Linked DNA regions of Homo sapiens: regions 2, 3 and 4 are each linked to region 1. The links are contacts of gene promoters, found by promoter capture Hi-C in blood cells and fetal thymus (Javierre and others, 2016). All regions are on one chromosome and are shown on one strand. Each heading gives the region's core, a stretch centred on a gene start or on the middle of the fragment in contact. The rest is flanking DNA. Distances are from core to core; before and after follow the strand shown. Region 1 holds the start of FLNA (filamin A). Region 2 overlaps MECP2 (methyl-CpG binding protein 2). Region 3 overlaps ARHGAP4 (Rho GTPase activating protein 4). Region 4 overlaps MECP2 (methyl-CpG binding protein 2).

What was found. The method cuts DNA at HindIII sites, captures the fragments that hold promoters and counts their contacts. A CHiCAGO score of 5 or more calls a contact.
Region 2: a fragment that was not itself captured here is called in contact with the fragment with the promoter of FLNA in region 1 in 2 of 17 cell types (M0 macrophages and monocytes); the score reaches 6.4 in M0 macrophages.
Region 3: a contact is called between a fragment that was not itself captured here and the fragment with the promoter of FLNA in region 1, in 2 of 17 cell types (total CD8 T cells and M0 macrophages). The highest score is 6.2, in total CD8 T cells.
Region 4: a contact is called between a fragment that was not itself captured here and the fragment with the promoter of FLNA in region 1, in 1 of 17 cell types (M0 macrophages). The highest score is 5.9, in M0 macrophages.

The regions. Positions count from the first base shown.
Region 1 is chrX:154,373,209-154,375,987 of GRCh38, reverse strand. It overlaps FLNA (filamin A), which reads left to right and starts at 1,354. Exons shown (of 48, transcript NM_001110556.2): 1 at 1,354-1,482. RefSeq lists silencers at 1,268-1,407, 1,418-1,477 and an enhancer at 2,567-2,616. The HindIII fragment of the contact is 17,250 bases long and covers 1-2,779 here.
Region 2 is chrX:154,089,671-154,092,370 of GRCh38, reverse strand. All of the region lies in intron 1 of MECP2 (methyl-CpG binding protein 2), which reads left to right. Among named protein-coding and RNA genes, the nearest start is that of MECP2, 6.7 kb to the left of the region's middle. The HindIII fragment of the contact is 6,480 bases long and covers 1-2,700 here.
Region 3 is chrX:153,922,017-153,924,716 of GRCh38, reverse strand. All of the region lies in intron 1 of ARHGAP4 (Rho GTPase activating protein 4), which reads left to right. Among named protein-coding and RNA genes, the nearest start is that of ARHGAP4, 2.9 kb to the left of the region's middle. RefSeq lists enhancers at 157-286, 793-1,293. The HindIII fragment of the contact is 3,334 bases long and covers 1-2,700 here.
Region 4 is chrX:154,040,773-154,043,472 of GRCh38, reverse strand. All of the region lies in intron 1 of MECP2 (methyl-CpG binding protein 2), which reads left to right. Among named protein-coding and RNA genes, the nearest start is that of MIR718, 22 kb to the right of the region's middle. RefSeq lists an enhancer at 1,925-2,425. The HindIII fragment of the contact is 203 bases long and covers 1,192-1,394 here.

The DNA of each region.
Region 1 (2,779 bases), core at 105-2,604:
ACTGTGTTGACCAGGCTGGTCTCAAACTCCTGACCTCGTGATCCACCTGCCTCAGCCTCCCAAAGTGCTGGGATCCACCACGCCCGGCCTTTTTTTTTTTTTTTTTTTTTTTTTTTGAGACGGAGTCTCTATCACCCAGGTTGGAGTGCAGTGACGTGATCTCGGCTCACTGCAACCTCTGCCGCCCGGGTTCACGCGATTTTCCCGCCTCAGCCTCCCGAGTAGCTGGGATTACAGGCGCCTGCCACTGCGCCCGGCTAGTTTTTATATTTTTAGTAGAGACGGGGTTTCACCATCTTGGCCAGGCTGTTCTTGAACTCCTGACCTCGTGATCCACCCACTTCGGCCTCCCAAAGTGCTGGGATTACAGGCATGAACCACCGCACCTGGCCTTTTTTTTTATGTTTAGTGACAGGGTTTCACTGTGTGACCCAGGCTGGAGTGTAGTGGTGAAATTATAGCTCACTGCAGCCTCAAACTCCCGGGCTTAAACGATCCTCCCATCTGTCTCCTGAGCAGCTGAGACTACCGGTGCACGTCACCACGCCCAGCTAATTTTTATATTTTTGGTAGAGATAGTGTCTTGCTGTGTTGCCCAGGTTGGTCTCAAACTCCCGGGCTCAATTAATCCACCTGCCTCAGCTTCCCACAGTGCTAGGATTATAGGCATGAGCCACCATGCCCGGCCAATGTTTTCTTTAAGATCAGAATCTTCTTAATACTAAACAAACTTAACTTTCTCGTCCCCCTGAGCGATCCTGTTTCTGCTGCCCACCCCAGGCCAGACCTGGCAGCGCCTGATCCATGGCAGTCAGGTTCATCCCAGGGCTCGGAGCCCTGCAGTCCCGTCCCGGGGCCCTGCCTGACGTAGGCGCCCAGCCAACACCTGCAACGACCTGTTGCCCCCACCCCAGGAAACAATCCCGGCTTGGGACAGACACCAGGGGCTGTGACTGTGGGTGGCTCCTTGGAGAAGGTGGCCTTGGGCCTCGGCCTTTCCACCTGGGGTGCGCTTGGCTCCCCCAGACTCAGACACGCAGGATCCTTGTGATTGGGCCTAGACACGAGCCCTGCAGTCCCTGTGGGCGCTGGAGGCGACTCCCCCACGAAGCCCTCCCTCCCCCAGGGCCTGGCGGCCCTCGCCGGCGGTGAGCTCATCTCGGGGGGCGGCGTCGCCCGGCGGCGGGTCGCTGGAGCTCACGGCGTGCCCCCGCACCCCCGCCCCCCACGCACCCGTCCCGGGCTCCTGGGCAATTTTACCAATTAAGGCTTTCTCGCCGGGCCGGGCCGGGCGCGGGGCGGGCGCGGGGCGGGGGTGCGGCCAACAAGAAGGCGGGCGGCGGCGGCCCATTCGCGTGGAGGCGCGTCGCGCGCAGCGGACGCCGACAGAATCCCCGAGGCGCCTGGCGCGGGCGCGGGCGCGAAGGCGATCCGGGCGCCACCCCGCGGTCATCGGTCACCGGTCGCTCTCAGGAACAGCAGGTGAGGTCTCCGCGGCCCGGCTTCGCGCCGTAGGGTCGCCGCGCTCCTCGTCGGCCGGGGGCGGGGTTGGAGAAGGCGGGCAGAGAGGCCGGAAAACGCAGGCGCCAGCTCGCGCCCAGGTCCGGGCCAGGTTCAGCTGGGATGCGTGAGCCGATGGAGGCTCCCCTGGCATCTGGGAGTGAGTGTCCAGAGAATAGCTTCCCTAGTTGACCCACGAGCCATGTCTGTGCCCACGAATGTGGGAGCCTGAGGCCATGGGGGGTCCCCGAGAGAGAGAGGGTGTCTGGGCACTTGCCCATGAACGGACCACTGCATGCCTGAGAGAGAAGGGCCCTGACACCAGGAACTTGTGTGGACTCAGGGCGAGTGGCCACCTGGAAGGACACTTCTCAGCCAGTGTGCCCACTGGGAGGGGGACAGCGTGTCCCTTGCTGGCTCGAGTCCACAGGGCACCAGCTGCTTTGGGCACAGGGGAGCTGGTTCTGGGGCTGCTCTACTCCATGGGGGCCATGGTGAGGATGAGACCAGGCCAGGTTCCTTGGTTGGGCCCTGGGCCCTATGCCAGGTTGGCTCTGAGTTGGATGCGCACTGCCAGCCAGGATATAACCAACAATGTCCCCAGATTCCCGTGCCACCTGGGGCCAGGCAAAATAGGTTAAAATCCACTGGCAGACCCATTTGTAAGTGCTCCGAGTGCACCGTCAAGGTGGGAGCTTGGGAATGGGCGACCTCACCTGCCGCACCTGGACTTGCCAGCACAGGTCTCTTCTCACCTTGCCAGTCTGCGGCTTCCTTCCCTCCTGCGCCCCCTGGCTACGCAGGCCTGGAAACAGCTCCTTAGGGATCCCAGCTGAACAGCTCCTGGGCTTGGGCTATACCTCCCAGTGGGAGGGTCTGGCCTGGGGTCTGAGGGCCAGGGGTGGTGTGGTGGGCGGGGTGTGCCTAACATCCAAGAATCTACTCCAAATAAGGGAAAATATGAAAGAGCTGGATTTTGGCTTCCCAGGACTGCCCGATCTGGTGGCTTTGGGATCGGGCGACATCTGGCGGTTGATACTATGTTCTAGGGACAAGAACCCTCTACACGCCCATTCCTTGTTTCCTCTAAATAGGGAAAAGCTAGGGCTGGAAGACACGGCACCCACCTCCTGACACTCTTTCTGCTGGAATTGACCACTGGTCACTCTGACTCAGTTTCCCTGAGCTCTGAAGATTAAGGAATGAACCCAGACAACCCAGCTCAATGGCCCTTAGTGGAGAGAGAGTCAATTATTGATGGAATTCCGTGCCTGGGAAC
Region 2 (2,700 bases), core at 118-2,617, 280 kb after region 1:
GCCCTGGGAAAAAGGTCGTGCAGCTCAATGGGGGCTTTCAACTTACAATTTTCTTTGTTTTAGGCTCCATAAAAATACAGACTCACCAGTTCCTGCTTTGATGTGACATGTGACTCCCCAGAATACACCTTGCTTCTGTAGACCAGCTCCAACAGGATTCCATGGTAGCTGGGATGTTAGGGCTCAGGTAAGTAACCTTCCTTTTTTTTTTTTTAGTATATGTCCTGGTTTGGCCATCTGTTTTTTTTTTTTTTAAAAAAAAAAAAAAAAGGAAAAGAGGAAAAAAATATACTACTCTTGGACAGTATAAAAGTACCCCAAAGACTAAAGACATAACTGTGCCAAACTGTGCCATATAATAAAAAAAAGTCACTTCCCTGAGCCCTGAAAGGTCAGTGTGTGTAGGGTTACTTGGTCGCCACAGCGTGATCTGGGGGCGGGCGTCAGATTAGAGCCGGAACTGGTGATCTGCAACTTCAGTTCACCTTGAAGCAGGTCAGCTGAGCTGAGAGCGCTTGCACTGAGCCCTTTTGCGCTGCTGCTGTTGCCTTAGCGGTCTTCAGCATGTGTTTGCTTTGGTTTGGGGTAAATGGCTTAGTGGTCAACATTAGTGAGCAGTGGTAATGCATTTTCAGATATGGGAACTGGTATGTGGTTGGTTCCCTAGAAGGACACCCTCCTGAAAGCTGTCTCAGAACACCGGGGGCCATGGCTAATGTCATGTGCTTGCTACACTCCTCCCATGGTAACTAAAGAGAGTACCCAGATATACATCTGGTTCTTGGGACTCTAGAGGAGGATGAGTACTTTGTAAAAACCTGGGGGCCCCAGTCATTCTAGGTCTGACACTCAGGTGCTGTATCAGCTGCAGTTTGAACTACTTGGCACCATTGTGTGGACTTTAGTTTTGTAAAAATGAATGGTTCCTTAATTTCTCAACCTTCAGGCTCAACATCTCAAGCTGTTTGTTGTTGTTGTTGTTGTTGTTGTTTTGTTTTGTCTTTTTGATTAGTGGTCACTCCGCATTTGATGTTTTGACATGTGGATTTCAGAACTTCTGTGTGGTAAAGCAGAATGTTCCAATTGAATTTTCCCATTTTTTTTCCCCTAAGCAAAAATGTGAGTTTTCACTTATGCGGCCATTGTGATTCCGACTGAGACCCTAAGTCGTTCTTTGTTGTCTCTCTAGTGGTTTCTGACACCTCAGTGTGAAGCTGTTGTAGACATCCATAAGAAATAGCCTGCTTAGGGATTATGTGAGGGCAAGGTTTGGCTGAAGGAGAATAGAAGGTGTGGAAGGAAGCGGAAGACCAGAAGAGCATCACACTGCCTCAAGTCCCAAATTTGATTCTGCTCCTGATCCTGTGACTCAAATTGTCATTCTCTTTTACTGCTGTGGGGTGTGCTCTGGGCCCAGCTGACAGGACATTCTTTGTACTCCACGTATTTATGCTGGTGGGAGTTGTATGGCTAGTGCTTTGTGCTTTGTCTCAGAAATTGTGTGGACTAAATGTAATATGGGCAGTGAATGGGTTTCTTCTGGAAGATGTTAGGCCTGGAGGGTGGTTTGGGTTTTTACGAGTCTTTTTCTCAGATTACAGATTACGAATGGATGTTATAAAACAGGCAGTGTTGACACCATACAGTTTCTCCTAAGAAATGTACAGAGAGTTCAACCTGAGGAAGCTAATTGAAAATAAACTTTTAAAAAGAAATGTAGAAAGAGGAAATTTAAAAAGTATCTTATGAATGGGAAAGATGTAGCCATTTGAGCTTCAAAGAACTTTTGAGGGAATTCTCAAAGGACAGTACCCGTCTTTAGTAGATAAATGCTTGATATCTATTTTTCTTCTTTTACTTTTTAAAGAATTACTAAAATAATACATGGATTTATAGAAAAATCAAACCACTTAAAAATTGATCAGGTGGCTGGGCAAGGTGGCTCATGCCTGTAATCACAGCGCTTTGGGAGGCCTAGGCGGGTGGATCACCTGAAGTCAGGAGTTCGAGACCAGCCTGGCTAACACGGCGAAACCCCATCTCTATTAAAAATACAAAAATTAGCTGGCCATGGTGGCTTGAGCGTGTAGTCCCAGCTACTCGGAAGGCTGAGGCAGGAGAATCACTTGAACCTGGGAGGCGGAGGTTGCAGTGAGCCAAGATCACACCACTGAACTCCTGCCTGGGTGACAGAGTGAGACTCGGTCTCAAAAAAAAAAAAAAAAAAAAGTATCAGGTAAAAAAATGAAAGCTCCCCGCTTAATCTCTGCTCCCACTACCCAGAATAACTGCTGTTAATAGCTTAATGTAGATCCTTCTAAGTCTTCTAAGACTAAACTGTGTACTTTTTGTGTTGTAATTAACAGGAGGGTTTTTGTTTTGTTTTGTTTTTTCTTTTTTTGAGATGGAGTCTTGCTCTGTCATCCAGGCTGGAGTACAGTGGCACAATCTTGGCTCACTGCAACCTCCACCTCCTGGGTTCAAGTGATTCTCCTGCCTCAGCCTCCTGAGTAGCTGGGATTACAGGCGCCTGCCACCACACCCAGCTAATTTTTGTATTTTTAGTAGAGATGGGTTTCACCATGTTGGCCAGGCTGGTGTCGAACTCCTGACCTCAGGCGATCCACCTGCCTTGGCCTCCCAAAGTGCTGGGATTACAGGCGTGAGCCACCGTGCCTGGCCTCAGGATGGTGTTATATA
Region 3 (2,700 bases), core at 192-2,691, 450 kb after region 1:
TGCTGTCCCAGGCCCTGGGAGTATACTGCTGTACCAGAGAGAACCCCGACTCCAGCCCCTCCAGCCCTGGCTTTTTACCCAGAGTAAAAGCAATGATTCAATGAGGACTCCCCTGATTTCAAATGGCGTCAGTGGCCACCCCGCCCTCACATGGCTCACGGGTCTAGTGGGGGAGACATAGACTTTGCATTATGATAATAAGCACTACAAAGGGAAGGAAAGTGCACGGTGCCAAGAAGGGGTCGGAAGAGGGCCAGCCCTAGTTTAGGGGGAGGTCAGGACAGGGTGTGCTGACGAGTTTGTCTGAACTGAGATCCGAAAGCTCTGCCAGGAAAGCCACCAATGCAATCGACTTGCAATTCACAAGTTGCCTGCTCAACACCAGCCGGTGTGCATGCCCGGATCTGGACTAGGACATGGCTTCCAGTCAGCTTTTGCTGCCGGCAGTGATGAAGAAAGGCAGCGGTTCCCTCTGCTGGTTCCTTCTGCACTGTTCAGTTGTCATAAGTCCCCAGGGATTGTATTCCTCTGGGGGAAGCAGGGCAGGGCAGGCTCCAGAGGGCCAGTGAGGCGAGCAGTTGTCTAACACCTTTCTTGGAATGAAATGAAATTTACTTTTATCAAAAAATGTTAAACTGGGCCAGGCGTGGTGGCTCACGTCTGTAATCCCAGCACTTTGGGAGGCCGAGGCGGGCGGATCACCTGAGGTCAGGAGTTCAAGACCCAGTCTGGCCAACATGATGAAACCCTGTCTCTACTAAAAATACAAAAATTAGCTGGGTGTGGTGGTGCGCCCCTGTAGTCCCAGCTACTCGGGAGGCTGAGGCGGGAGAATCGCTTGAACCCGGGAGGCGGAGGTTGCAGTGAGCCGAGATCGCACCACTGTACTCCAGCCTGGGCAACATCCTCCGTCTCAAAACAAAAAATCAAAACAAAACGTTAAACTGATTCAGTGAGGACTCTCCTGATTTCAAATGGCATTAGCGCCCACCCCACCTGGCCTTGGAGCTGACGAGTTAACCACAGGAGGCCAGCCTCGGATAGGATGAAGACACTCTCCATCTGTCTCACTTGGCATCGTGGGCTCTGCCCTGCTCTGTCGGGAGGTCCCGTGCCCCAGGCTTCCACTTACCCAGCTTGATCTGCCGGTGGGAAGAGCTCTCCTGTTCAGTAATTCAATTGGAAGGGTCAGGCTCCTGGGTCCCTCACCTGGCTAGTCTGGTGGGGGCAGGGAGTGGAGGGACAGAGGGATGGGTGACGCATGCAGCCAGGGCTGGGGCACCTGGAGTCAAGGGGGCTGAGACTAGGAAGGGGACATTCTCCAATAGGAGATCAGGGGAGGAGGTAGGGATGCTGGGCAGGCGGAACCCACAGGGTCCCCATGCAACAGCCCCTGGGAAGTCACTGGCGGGACAGAAATCCAATGGGATTGAGCTCTTCTCAGCGGAGTCCTCCCTCGCTGCTGCTGGTCTGAATCCTGCCGTCTTTTGCCTGGACTAGCACAGTAGCTGCCACCTGGGCTCCACCTGGCAGTGTGAGGGGGCCCTGAAAACGAAGCTGGACCACATCACCCCACTACTGTGGCTCCTCTCTCACTCGGAGTCCAGCTGGGAGCTCTGCCCAGACCCCGGGCTCTGTGCCATCTGTCCCTACCGGTCTCTCGGACTCCCCCTACTGCCCACGTACAGCCAGCTCCAGCCTTCTGCTCCAACGATGCGGCTTGTTCTTGACCACCCTCCTTTAAAAAGAGGTCCTCCCTGTCCCCACCCACCCCTGGCTCTGATCTTGCTTTGTGGGTTCATCTTCTCCGCACCCATCACTCCTGGGCATTCTGATATGTGTTCGTGCCCCATTCCAATCCCAGCTCCAAGAGGGCAGACACTTGGTCAAACCTCTTTGCCTTTGTATTTAAAACGTGCCTGCCACAGAATGGGTGCATAATCAACATTCTGCTGAATGAAGACATCAATTCATGTCCCTCCCTGGGGATGTGGATGGAGATGAGTAGGTGGGCAGCCTGCTGGCCAGAAGCTGAGCTAGCATCTTATTTACTCGGGACGGGCACTCAGGAGATGGCAAAAGTGTCTTCCGCAGGTTGCTTAAACTTGCTGGACAGGCACTTCTTTGCTTCAGGCCTGTGTGGGGGAAGCAGCGTTGCCAAATCAAGCCAGTGATAGGGTGTCAAAAGGCCGGCAGTATGGGGCCCTGGGTGTGACTCTCTCTGCAGGGTGGGGGAATGCACAGGTGGGGCGGGGGGTGATTGGGAGTGGGAAGTGGGGTCAGAAGACGGGGGCTAGCTCCCTGCCCCATTCTTTCACTTACAAGGCCGGATCAGCTCTCCCTGGCTCCCAGCCCTCACTGTGGACTGTCCTTTCCCCTGGGGCCTGAGGGCAGGCTTCCCCAGCCACTGAGACTGCGAGATCGCTGCAGGCTTGCCCTGAGCAGCACTGTGATCTGTGTGTTGTGTATCCGTGTGTTTGCAAGGGAGGCTGCCACCTCCCGGAGCCTGGGTACCGGCGGGAAAGGAAGTCGCAGGGGAAACCATTCAGAGGCTTTCCAGGAACGAGGGAGAGACAGGAAGCCAAACTGAAAGGTGCCTGGCTGGCGCTGGGGCGGCTCTCCCCTCTCTCTGGGACACCCTTCCCCTTCCCCCTCAACCGGGTGGCTCTGGCCATCTGTTGGCCTCAGCGCAGAGGTCGG
Region 4 (2,700 bases), core at 44-2,543, 330 kb after region 1:
AACCTATCTTTATGATTTAGAATAATTGGTGGTCAGCTGCTGTTTTAATGTTGTTGTTTTTTTTAATTTAGATATAATTCACATACCATGAAATTTACTCATTTAAAGTGTACAATTCATTCTTCAGTATAATTCATAGGCTCACAGAAAAAATTGTTTAAAAATAAAATGTGCAATTCAGTGTCTTTTAGTACATTCACAGAGTTGTGCAACCATCGCCTCTGTGTCATTCCAGAACACTTTCAGCACCCAAAAGAAACCCCAGACACAGGAGCAGTCACCTCTTATTACCCGCAGCCCCTGGCAACAACTCATCCACTTCCTGTCTCTATGGATTTGCCTATTCTGGACATTTCCTATAAATGGAATTATGCACTATTTGGCCTTTTGTGTCTGGCCTCTTTCACTGAGCGTAATGTCCTCAAGGTTCATCTGCATTGTAGCATGTGTCAGAATTTCTTTCCTTTTTGAGGCTGAATGATATTATATCCTATAGATAATGAGGTTTTGATTATCCACCCATCCCTTGGGAATGCATATTTGGGTTGCCCCCACCATTTGGCTGTTGTAAACTGTGCTGCCATGAACACTGGTGTACGGATATCTGTTTGGTTACTGGTTTTGGTTTTTTGTTTGTTTGTTTTGGTTTTTTGAGACAAGGTCTTGCTCTGTCGCCCAGGCTGGATTACAGTGGCACGATCTCTGCTCACTGCAACCTCCACCTCCCAGGTTCAAGCAATTCTCCTGCCTCAGTCTCCTGAGTAGCTGGGACTACAGGTAGCACTCACCACCATGCCCGGCTAAATTTTTTTGTATTTTTAGTAGAGACAAGGTTTCGCCATATTGGCCAGGCTGGTCTCAAACTCCTGACCTCAGGTGATCCACCCACCTCAGCCTCCCAAAGTGCTGGGATTACAGACGTGAGCCACCGCACCCGGCATAGTTGTGGCTTTTTGAGAGTGTATGGCTAGGAGTAAAATTGCCAGGTCATATGGTAACTCCATGTTTAACATTTGAGAAACTGCCAAACTGTTCTCCACAGCAGGAATTTTTTAACCTGTATGTGGTGGGCTTGTGTTTCGGTTTTCATTTTACACATCTATAAAGATGAGATTTGCTGTATGGCACTGGTTGCCTGTATTTGGGGAGGGTTCTGCTTTTGGTTGGCAAGAACTGCATTTTATTTAAGCTTAGCAAAACATAACTGGTTTCTCGCATCTTCTCAAAAGTGGAGGATTAAGAAATGGACTGCGAATTCAGAGCAGGGCAGCTGAACCTCAGGCTCCACCCTTGTAGCCTTCAAGCTGAACCTCATTCTCTCTTGCTCCCTGGAGACCACTGAGACACTCTGCCTGTGCCAGTTTGATTTCTCACATTTTTAAAGGGCCAAAGCTTGTGTCTCAAAGTGCTATAGCCTTTATTGATTCATGCAGAGAAGCCTCCTTGATTCCGTAATTCTGCAGCTAATACTGGAAGTAGAAAGAATTGGAAACACCATCTGGATGACACTTTAGGGTGGAAGCAGCCAGTACAAGGGGGGGCTCATTATTTCCTCTGGTCCCAGACTGTTCACCTGGAGCTGTAGCCACCACCCTGCCCTTAGGTTAACTGCCTCGAGTGGTAGTTTAGCTCTTTGTGCTGTGCCGAGGGATAACTGGAAGTGAAAGGTGCTGAGAAATGCCATCTCCTGAAAGTGGCGAGCATGAGTGAATTTACGAAAGGTTGGGATATTGCTGGGGCTCTGGAAGTTTCTCTGGAGCTCACTCCAGGGGACAGGGAGGGGGCTGGATTCCAATTCAAGTGAAAAATACCTTTCATCTGCCTTGTTCACCTGGCTTTTTTGCCTTTTTGTAAAATCTGAAAACCTCAGGGATTGAGTAGTCTTTCCTTAACTGCAGTTGCCTGTCTGGCCACACCTGCCAGCTGTTGCTTGTACCCCTGTAATTTGCACGGCCTTCCGGGCCTTTCTCACAAGATCACTGCAGGTCACATTCATGAGGAAAATGCAGGCAGTTCCTGCCATCAGACCCCTCAGGATGTCATGGTTTGGCCTGAAAACAAGATTCCTGCAACTCTAATTTTCCTTTGCTAGATCAAATGAAGGATTTGATCTAATGTTTGCATTCTAGCAGCAAAATCATTGAATATTTTATTTCTTAAGAGCCTTACTTCATATTTTGTAGGTATTTTAAGATTTTGTAAAGGCCTTTCTGCTTCAACGTGTGATGTGTGCATTCTTAGAAAAAGATCTTGTGTTCTGTAAATCACACAATAAAAACATGAGTTCGTGCAGGAAAAACTGGGGCGGGGTGGATCACTCCAAACTTGTGTGGTGTGGTAACTGGAGCTCACTGATGAAACCATGAACAGTTCTGGCTGAAAGAACCCCACAGTACACTGAGGTCTGTTGGCATCGCCGCCAGCACCGCCCCGGTCCCTTTGTGCGCGCCACCACACCTGGCTAATTTTTTATTTTTAGTAGAGAGGGGGTTTCACCATGTTGGTCAGGATGGCCTCGAACTGACCTCGTGATCCGCCCACCTCAGCCTCCCAAAGTGCTGGGATTACAGGTGTGAGCCTCCGTGCCCAGCCTTCAGCTTTTTTTCTTAATGTCTTTGTGTAATATGAAGGCATTCTCTTTAATTGTTAAAAAGCTTGCCTACCACTGCTTCAAAATATTACTGTCAGTTGGCATAGCTT